3 separate regions of the Homo sapiens genome follow, and regions 1 and 3 are each linked to region 2. Evidence: promoter capture Hi-C in 16 types of primary human blood cells and fetal thymus (Javierre and others, 2016). All regions are on one chromosome and are shown on one strand. Each heading gives the region's core, a stretch centred on a gene start or on the middle of the fragment in contact. The rest is flanking DNA. Distances are from core to core; before and after follow the strand shown. Region 1 has its middle 44 kb from the start of LINC02290. Region 2 holds the start of FNTB (farnesyltransferase, CAAX box, subunit beta). Region 3 holds the start of PPP2R5E (protein phosphatase 2 regulatory subunit B'epsilon).

The links. The method cuts DNA at HindIII sites, captures the fragments that hold promoters and counts their contacts. A CHiCAGO score of 5 or more calls a contact.
Region 1: a fragment that was not itself captured here is called in contact with the fragment with the promoter of FNTB in region 2 in 7 of 17 cell types (naive B cells, fetal thymus, naive CD8 T cells and 4 more); the score reaches 10.0 in naive B cells.
Region 3: the fragment with the promoter of PPP2R5E here is called in contact with the fragment with the promoter of FNTB in region 2 in 2 of 17 cell types (fetal thymus and total CD8 T cells); the score reaches 7.3 in fetal thymus.

Annotation. Positions count from the first base shown.
Region 1 is chr14:66,065,723-66,069,179 of GRCh38, reverse strand. No RefSeq gene overlaps it. Among named protein-coding and RNA genes, the nearest start is that of LINC02290, 44 kb to the left of the region's middle. The HindIII fragment of the contact is 957 bases long and covers 1,542-2,498 here.
Region 2 is chr14:64,985,645-64,989,057 of GRCh38, reverse strand. FNTB (farnesyltransferase, CAAX box, subunit beta) reads right to left here and starts at 2,163. Exons shown (of 12, transcript NM_002028.4): 1 at 1,961-2,163. The coding sequence starts at 2,104. The region is part of intron 3 of CHURC1-FNTB (CHURC1-FNTB readthrough); the gene reads right to left. LOC107984655 (a long non-coding RNA gene) reads left to right here and starts at 1,945. Exons shown (of 2, transcript XR_001750792.2): 1 at 1,945-2,378; 2 at 2,459-3,413. The HindIII fragment of the contact is 3,816 bases long and covers 1-3,413 here.
Region 3 is chr14:63,541,968-63,545,122 of GRCh38, reverse strand. PPP2R5E (protein phosphatase 2 regulatory subunit B'epsilon) reads left to right here and starts at 1,746. Exons shown (of 14, transcript NM_006246.5): 1 at 1,746-2,344. LOC112268140 (loricrin-like) reads right to left here and starts at 2,339. Exons shown (of 1, transcript NR_158218.1): 1 at 459-2,339. RefSeq lists enhancers at 264-343, 1,431-1,640, 703-1,694 and silencers at 1,931-2,070, 2,111-2,250. The HindIII fragment of the contact is 771 bases long and covers 1,569-2,339 here.

The DNA.
Region 1 (3,457 bases), core at 771-3,270, 1.1 Mb before region 2:
CAAGTCCCGCTTCCCTTCTCCTACCACCTACTGGTGAAGATGTAAATGAACAAAGCCCAGAGATTGCAATAGGAGGAACAAACCCTAATTAACACATTGGATAACGCAAATAACTGAGAGCTGTTTGGACACCTACTTTAATTAACTGCTAAGTGAGTCTTACTCCCTGCAGACTGTCCTAGTTTTCATCATGTGTTCTTTCTGGGTGCATCTCTTCTACATCTGTAGCTAAGTGACTGCCTCTCTTCCTGTCCAGCTCTCACTCCATTTTCAGCCCAGCCTAGTGACTAAGAGATTCCCTGGACACCTTACCAATGTCCAATCCATATCCAAAGCCTAAGGATGTCATCCAAGTCTCTCCTTGATCTGCACTCCTCTGCTCACCTCTACCACCAGCACTTGGTCCTAGGCCCCTGGACAACTGCAACAGCTTCATAGTTGCTTATACTCCTGAATCAGCACTTCCCTCTCCATGGCACAGCCAGAGTAAGCTTTACAACATGGAAATCTGTCCCTGATACTCTCCTACTTAAAATCCTTTGAAGGCTCCTCATCACTTTTAGGATAAACACTCAAAGCTTTACAAACCTGTGGCCTAGTCCTGCCCACCACTTCTGTGCCCATCTGATGCCACCTCCCTCTGTCATGACCTGAGTCTCTTTATGGTGCTTTTCTCTGATCCTTAAACTTGCCATGCTCTGTCTCAGCTCATGTCCTTTTTCTTTGCCTGTGATGCTCTCCTTACCACCATGAACACTTGCCTTTGCCTAGTTAACTCCTGTGCATTCTTCAGAACCCAAACTCCAACAGTCTCCTTCCTTAAAGGAGCCTTCACTGACCTGAGACTAAGCCAGGTTCCCTGTCACACAATCCCCCAACATGGCCACATGTTGTGGTGACTATATACTTAAAAAATTGAGGCTTATCTCCTCCACTAGAATGTACACTCCTTGAAGTTGGGAGTCGTGTCTTTGTGCACCTGGCGTTGTGTCTGGCATCTAGGCCTGTCTCAGCAAAGACTTGTTGAATGAATGGATGGACACTATTGTGCTCTTTCTTTTAATATCAGCGGGTGGTGAGGGCACCACCACAGACTGAAGAAACGGAGGTCCTCAGTCTGGAGAGATGTAGGTGTGGTACTGATCAGAGTGGGAGGTGGACTGTGTTGTTGTCTGACAGCTGACAATTCTCGGATTTTGTGGACTAGGAGGGTATCCACACGTTCTTGCCTCTTCTGTCTGTGTAGATACTCTCTCCCATCTGGCTCTATCTTGTGCCAGTGTTGTGTACATGCCCACCCACACCCCCAGCCTGTGACCTGGGAGAGCCCCACCAAAGCCCCCCTTCCTTGTGGCTTCATGCCCTTGTTTATTCTTGGGCTGGGAAACCTGAGTCTTCCATTCCCAGGCCTGCTTCTGATCATATACAATGCAGTACTAAAAAGCCAGTTGGTCTCCTGGAACTTCTTTCTTCCCATTAGTTGTTGGCAATGCAAATGAAGGATTAAATCACAAGCAAGACAGACTTTTTGTTCAGAAGCTTGAGTTTTAAGAACCGTCCCCAGGGAAATCAAATGGAAGGGGGAAAACCAAGTATACAAGGCCTTCCTTCCATTCCCCCAAATGTCAGCCAAGAGTGCAGCCTAAGGGATGAGTCAGAAGTAGGGGAGCCAGGGCTTGGAAAACTGATTGTCTATACCAGGGCTTTTCATACTTTAGCATGCATCAGGATCACCTGGAGGGCTTGTTAAACACAGATGGTGAGGGCCCACCCCTAGAGCTTCTGATTCAATTGGCCTGGGGTGGGGCTCAAAAATTTGTGTTTTCAAAGTAGGTAATGCCGATGCTGCTGGTCTCTGGGGCCCCATACCTTGAGAACCACAGCACTACACTGTAGTCTCTCCCCACGTGTTCTAACTCAGTGCCTCTCAAACTCCAACGTGTATTCCACTCCCCTGAAAATGTTAGCGCACAGGCTCTGATGGAGGAGGTTGGAGTGCAGCTGGAGTTTCCGCTTTATTAACCAGCTCCCTGGTGATGAGGATGCTGCTGCCGCACTGAGGTCCCTACGCTGAAAAGCAACGCAAGGTAAACAATTGTCTTCTGGAGCTCTGCTTCTCTCTGATAGACATCTTTTCCTTCCTTTATGCCTTCCTGGTATATTGGGGATATTAGGGGAGACCTTTGAGAGACATGGGTGCCAGGGAATATCACTCTAAGTCTTCCTGGGTCTCGTTGGCCTGACCAACAGGAATCCAATGTTTATGTGCCAGAGGTTTGTTTTGTCTAAGCTACGAAATGAAACTTGGCCTTCTTTAACCACCCTTTGCTGGAGAGACCCTTGCCCATGATGCTGATGGGTGTGAAGCAGAAATACAGTGGAAGAGCTACCCTGGAGGAATCATGCTGCCAAGTCAGACAACTGGAACGTGTCTCACTACCGGGAGTAGTTTCACTGAGGTTGTGAAAGGGTGGGATTCAATGGGGAAAAGGAAAGCTTGCTCCCTTTATTATAAAAAGTGTTTACCAGGCACAGTGGCTCACACCCGTCATCCCAGCACTTTGGGAGGCTGAGGTGGGTGGGTCACCTGAGGTCGGGAGTTCAAGACCAAGCCTGGCCAACATGGTGAAACCCTGTCTCTACTAAAAATACAAAAGAAATTAGCCGGGCCTGATGGCGGGCACATGTAATCCCAGCTATTAGGGAGGCTGAGGCAAGAGAATCCAGGAGGTGGAGGTTGCAGTGAGCCGAGATCGCGCCACTACACTCCAGCCCAGGCAACAAGAGCAAAACTCCATCTCAAAAAAAAAAAAAAAAAGGAAAAAGTGTTGTGTTGGCAGCATATGGTTTCTGACCATGAGCTCTGTCTGGGGTTAAGGGACATAGACTCAAAGCTTTAAATGAAATCGCATTTGTAGGTTGTTTACCACAGAGCCTAGCCCTTAGTGTGTGCTTAATGAATGACAACTGCCATCATTTTTAAATTGGGAAGTACTAATTGTAGTAGAATCAGAATCCATATCGGAGGAAAACTGGCAGCTTGATAGCCTATAGAATCAAACATGATGTTTTGGCCACTGGGATTTCCTGTGCTCCGGAGGCCTAGCTCAGCCCCTGTGCTATTTAGTACATTTTTGTTGAATGAAAAGAAGGAGCTATACAAGTCTGGGTAAATTGGTAGGTGGGGGGCATTTGATCTCATGGAAATTGTCCGAAAGGAAAAAATGAATGGAATTCTGAAAGTGAGGTCTTTCAGGCCCTGGGTAACCTTGCTCGGTTTATTTATAAAATGGATCACTCCCACTCCTTGACAGGGTTATTGTGAGAAATGTTTTGTGATGGAAAGTGCTTGGTTAATTATAAAGCATAAATCAAGTATTCATTATTTTAATAAAGTGGAGGACCTAAAACTACCTAACAGGTCATTTGAATTGTGACCACTTTAGTGATGAGGCTG
Region 2 (3,413 bases), core at 914-3,413:
TTGTTACTTTTGATGAATGTATCATTAACCTACCAATGTGGTAGGTCTCTAAACCTCAGTCTTCTCATCCATAAAAAGTGAAAGGATTGAATGATACCACATATGGAGAGCATTTAGCACTGTGCTGAGACTCAATAAATGGTCACTAACATGATTATTAAAACAGTGAGGAAGGCCACAAAAATGAGATACAACATTATCATCCTACTACCTGAAACTGTTCATCCTAGACTCTAATAATGTGTGCTGGAATAACAACATGAAAAAGAAATATAAGATTCTTTACTGTCTGCCATACCGTTGGGTCTAGATTTGAAAGATACTCGCACCAGGAGCAGTGGCTCACGACTGTAATCCCAGCACTCTAGGAGGCCGAGGAGGGCAGATCACTGGAGGTCAGGAGTTCAAAACCAGCCTGGCCACATGGTGAAACCTGTCTCTACTAAAATACAAAAATTAGCCAGGCGTGGTGGTGGGCGCCTGTAGTCTCAGCTACTCTGGAGGCTGAGGCAGGCGAATGGCGTGAACCCGGGAGGCGGAGGGTGCAGTAAGCCAGTGCATCCCAGCCTGGCAACAGGGCGAGACCCCATCTCAAAAAAAAAAAAAAAAAAAAAGGCAATCCCATAGTCTAAGGTCAGATAATAAGTAAAACACTTGACCTGAATCAACTCAGCAATCCATCATTTAGGAATTCTGCAAAGATCCTGTAGGTTTTTCATCAATGGGAAATTTCTTTACAATCTTTTGCAGTCAGCCTTCCCTGGGACACACTGGTAGGCAAACCAACCTGGAGAATTAGCTAGATTCGAGAGGTGAGGATTTCCTTTGCTACCCTAAATTCCATGAAGTTTAAATCTCCAGTTAAAATATTTTCTCTGCTACTTTGTGAATAACCACGTATCAAGCCCTTGTTTCTGTTATAAATTTATAATTCTATTTAGTCATAACTGTACAATAAAACAATTATTGTTACTAATTTTGCCAAAGTACAGGCTTCCAACTTAAAGTAGGAAATACAAAACAGGTCTCTCCAAGGTAAAGCCTGGAGACTGATCTCACTAAGAGATCTTATTTCAGTAAGCAGCAGAATGTTCATTTATTAGTGTTAAGAATTATCCTAACCACTTCTCCTAGGGACAGATGGATAAACAGTTCCACATAGCAACCTTGGGAACAATTCCAATTAGGGAATAAGAAGAAAAACAAAACTATGGTTTTGGGCATATGAATATATACTCATTCGCCAAACACTTTTCAAAATGATAGGTTCGATCCTACTTCTAGGCCTTAGGGAATGATTAGTAGTCCAAAATCCATTCTTTCTATTAGATCACTTTCCAAACTGTTTTCCTGCCTGTCCCCCAACCAGGCTCCTGGTCAGGAGCTGTTTTATTTCCTTGTACTTCCATCGTTTAATATTGTGTCCGACACGTAGCTGGTGCTCAAATGGCTGAATGACTACCAAAATGCCCACCCACGAGGCGGGCCCCCAAACCTGGCACTGTAGGTCAAAAATTAAACAGATCGTGAAACGGCATGACAGCAGCCTGGCCCTGCTCTCTGCCTCCAGAAGCTGAGGGCAGGTTGGGAAAAGTGCACTATGCACCCCAGAACCTCCCGAAGTACTGGCAGAACAGAGTGGGCTGTCCGACCCGCACGGGCTGCCTCTGTCCTCCAGGCATAGAACACGATTCTTCTCGTTCTTTAGGGCAGAGGGGACTCGGCTACTGCCCTCTCCTCCAAGCCCAACCTTGAAACGACCCTTCCCCAAGCTGGCCGCGCAAACGCTCCACGACGAAGCCCAAGCCTGGGCGCCCGGAGCTTCCCAGAGGAAAGGCACCGCGGTGCGCTGTGGGAGTCGTAGTTCCCCGGTGAGTTCCGCACCCGGGCGGCCCTACGAACGGGACTCGCGCTCCCAGAACACATCGCGCGGGCGCCTCGCCCAGTCCTGCCACCTCACCTGTTCTATGGACGTGACTGTTTCCACCGAGTCGTCCTGCAACCGCTCTCGCGCGTGCTCGGGCCTCAGACTGTACAGCGGCTCTGACCAGACGGGGGAGGAAGATGGAGGGCAATAGTAGGTGAAAGAACTCGGAGAAGCCATGATCAGGAGAGCAGCAGACAGTGTGTAGGACTCTGCTTCGTTAAGCAACAACGCGCATTGAAACTCGAGCGGGCTAAAGCGCTACGGCGAGCGGATAGAGGCAAAAAGATTTTGAACGCGAATGTCTCCTCCCGCCTACCCGTCTTTCGAGTGAGTTACTGAGATGCTGCCGCCCCCCATTGGGCAGAGGAGCTGCTGCAAGAGCGTAGAGTCCTGAAGCGCAAGGGTGTCTACATCCGAATTTCATTTCAGCGAGATGGCGTAGGACGCCTCGGTTTGTTACGCAAATTGTTAAAGAACTGTAACATTCTGCTAATTCTCACTTAATTGTAATGCAATTGTTTGCAATTTCAGGTGCCCAAGAACCCAATGAATGTTAAGTTTGAAAGCATTTCTGACAGCTCTACTGATTTGCCTCAGTCAGGCAATTACTAAAAGAATTATTGTGCACCTTGGGGTACTTGACAGCCTCCCAGGAGAAGGCAGCAGCTGCTCAAACGTGCAAGGACGCCGTCTCAGTATCACTCAGTGATGGAGGGAGGGGGGTATTATGATTTTCTCCTGTCTCTTGGAGGTTACACTGCAGTAGCGAGAACTGAAATGCAGTACAAGGAACAAGGATAAGTGAAATAGACAGTCAGTCCGCAGATATTTATGGAACACCTGCTATGTGTCAGGCATTGTGCTAGGTTCTAGGAATACAAAAGTGAACAAAACGAAGTCCCTTCCCTTGGAAACCTTACATTCTAAGAAAATCGACAGAATTGAATGTATCCAACGCAATAAATATATGAAGACTTGTGATAAATGAGATGAAGGAAAATAACAGGGTCTATGAGAGAGACTAAAGGGGTAAGAAACTAATTGAATTGTATGGTCAGGCCAAGCCTCTCTAAATGACCTTTCATTTGAGATCCGAAGGATGACGAGGAGTCATCCAGAAGAACAGTATGGGAAAGAACTCCTGAAAAAGGAAGAAACAGCAGCTTTTAGAAGACATGTGCTGGGCACGGTGGCTCACGCCTGTAACCCCAGCACTTTGGGAGGCTGAGGCAGGAGGATCACTTGAGGAGTTAGAACATCCTGGGCAACATAGCAAGACCTCATCTCTATTAAATATCAAAAAAATTAGCCGGGCGTGGTGGCGCATGCCTGTAGTCCCAGCTGCTCGACAGGCTAAGGTGGGAGGATCTCTTGAGCCCAAGAAGTCGAGGCTGCAGTGAGCTATGATTGTGCCACTGCACTCCAGCCTGGGTGGCAGAGCGAGACCCTGTTTCAAAAAAAAAAAAAAAGCAAAACAAAAAAACAA
Region 3 (3,155 bases), core at 497-2,996, 1.4 Mb after region 2:
GTTCAACTGTTGCCAAGGGAAATTGAATTGGCTTCAAAATCTTCCTTGGTTTTAATTCTGAATTTACCCTCAATCAAAGATTGAAGAAAACAGGTCCTTGGCTGGGACACTGAACTTTCATGAAGACTGTACAGGATATTGAGATATGGAAAATTTAAGGTTCTTGAGGGTAGGAACTAGACTGCTGGTATTCTATAGTTCATACTTAGTGGTGATGAACTTTATCACGGCAAAAGTGGGCACTAGCCATACAGTGGCCAATCATCTGGAGTCAGTAGGGGGAGACTGCTTCCATCTAAGAGTCATCTTTTCGTTTTCCATTTCAGTTCAAAGCAGGAATATTTTTATCTTTCATGGCACAAAATTATTTTTCCACTCAAGAGCCATTTCTGGGAGTGTGCAAAGAAAATTTCAAAACTCTAGTGTTTAACAACACAAACAGGAGAAATGCAAATGCATTTTTCGTTGTCACTTGTACATATGGTACATATAGTTTTATTTATATATAGCTCTATTCCCTAACCGTATCGAAAAGATGATATAATGCTGAGGGAAAAAACTAGGCTACAGATCGACACACATTATTAACATAAAGAGAAAAAATACTAAAAGGAAGTATGCAAATACTGTAAGTGGTTATCTCTGAGTTGAGAAAATAAGAATGTTAATTTTTTTGTCCCCCCCCCCAATTTCTAAGTTTTGAACAACTGGTACTCTGACGTTTGTAGTTAGCATTAATAATTTCTTTCTTCCTTTTTTCCTCTCAAAAAATGTACGTAGGGTGCATTCAAATACATTAATCCAAGAATATTATCTGGAAATGTACCATTTGGCCGTCTGCATTCACCAAGCATGCAAACACATCTCCAAATATCTCATCACTTGTTCTAGATAGATTTAAGTAGTCTTCTCCATTAACTCTTTCGGGTCCAACTTGCCAATTAAAATCTCGAAACTCCTAGTTTGGAGCTGGGTCTTTCCGAGCTCTGAGCAGTCGGCTGACTGGCGGGTTATTCTGAATGAATAGACTGCAAACTGTGGCGACAGCGTTCCCACCTGCATTAATTAAACGAGCGCTGGCTTCAACGCTACAGGGGTCTGATATTCAAAACAGACGTTTAAGGAAAAGGAGATGAGGTGAGAGAAAATTCGAAGAAGGTTCAGCGGAGAGCGACTGCTGGGGGTTTCAAGGGGCCCATTTACACAAGCAGTGGCACACCGGCACGGGCGGGGGATCTTATTCCTGCCTACGCATCACAGGGTCCCGTCCAGAGTGGGACTCCCCAAACCCTGAGGGGCCACACTAGCTGCAGGGCGGGATCAAGTCTCCGGGGCTCCCCGACCCTTAGACGACCCGAGCCCTTGGAATCCTCCGGTCCAAGACGACCGCCGCCCAAAGGCTCCGCACAGCACGGAAAGCCAGCCCGCTGATCCGCTAGTCGCACACCTCCCGGAATTAAAGAGCTCCTCTCAGGCCCAGCGGCTTCTCACTTCAGCTTGCCCCACTGCCGGGCGGAAGCGGCGGCTGCACCGCCCGAGATCGCGGCTGCATCCGGGTTCCTCAAGCTTCGGCCCAATCCTCGACCTTCTCTCTTCCCACCCTCCCGTTTCTCCGCCCTCCTGCCGCCAATCCCTGATCAGGTCTCAGCCGAACATGCTGTCAGGGGAGTGAAGGCGGATACTGGCCAATGAGGCCTCGCTTCCCGTTTGAAGTCTCCAGTGGGCGGGCGCCGGAGGCGGGCGCTGCTGGCCAGAAGGTTCGGTTGCGCGTGTGCCATGGACTCAGCCGCCCGGTGATATTGACAATAGGAGAGAGAAAGGGGCATTGACTGGGACCCACCGCGGGTAGCGAAAGGTGGCTCTGGCAGCGGCGGCTCCAGCTCCTGCGGCTCCTCCTCCTTATTCTGTCCCCTTCTCTTGCTGCCGCTGCAGATCCAGTCTTCCTCCCTCCCTTCCCCCCCTCCCCACGTCGTCGCCGCCGCCGCCGGGTCCGGGGCAACGAGCTGAGGCGCCGCCCGCCAGGAATGTGAGCGAGGAGCCACCGGCGGAGCCGCAACGGGGTCGGTGCCGATTTGATGGGACGGGCCCGCGGGGGAGGATCGTGAGGCCGCCGCCGCCACCGGAACGCTGAGGTTCGGGTCCGGCCGTGAGGCCTAGAGGCTCCGCCGCCGCGGAACCGGAGGGACCCCGTACCGGACAGCCGTCGCCCCAGGCTCCCCGCAGCTGCCCGGACCTCCCCCTGCACGTCCCGGTCCCGCCGCCCGCCCCCGCTGCGGCCACCTCGCCCGTCTCCCGCCCCTCCAAGCCACAGATCATCTTTGGATTCTTCCCCAGAAGCTTCAAGGTAACTTAGTCCCTCCAGCACCGCGGCTCGCCCGCTTCCCTTCTTCCTCCCGGTCCTCCTGGGGAACCTATGGGGCACCGGCCTTGGGAAGGCCTGGCCGGGCAGGCGAGGGGTGCGGTGGGGTGGGGTGCGGGAGCGGGAGCGCCCGTCCCACTTGTCTGATTTACCTACAAATGCTTCTGATGATACCTCTCATTCACTCTGCCCCCTCCCCCCTTTTTCTCCACCTTCTGGGATTGGAGGCGTTTTCTTGCCCCCCTTTATCCACTGGCGGGGGCGGGGAATAAAGAGGGGTTTGGTGTGAGGAGGATTCTCTAGCAGCTTATCGTCTCCAGGGCTTGGGGTGTGGGTTAGGAGCAAAGGGAGTATGTAAGCATCCCCACAGACAAACCCCTTCCCTGTCTTTCCCTACTTCCCCTTACCCCCTTTGGATTATCCTGAGCCATGGAAATGCCCCATGCCTGCTGATTAGAGGATGATAAAGCTTCGGGAGCCCTGGCCCAGGGCGAAACCTGTTTCCCTGGGCTTTGCACGGACCCGCTGTTACCTTACGTTCAGTTTTGCAGTGCTTCAGGGTTGCGATCCTTGACGTTTATTCTGGGCCTCGGGCATAAGGGGTAAATGATTTTTTTAAAAGCTACCTATATATCGTCTGTAGAGATGAGAGATAAGGAATAAAGAAGAGACGAAAAGAGTGATGGAGGAAGAGGATTTACTGAAATGTTGTAGTGTTAGAGTTAGAGTGAAGTCTAAATAATTCACATACCCGAATGGAAAATCGGCCCCTAAATTTACAACGTACAAATAAGAT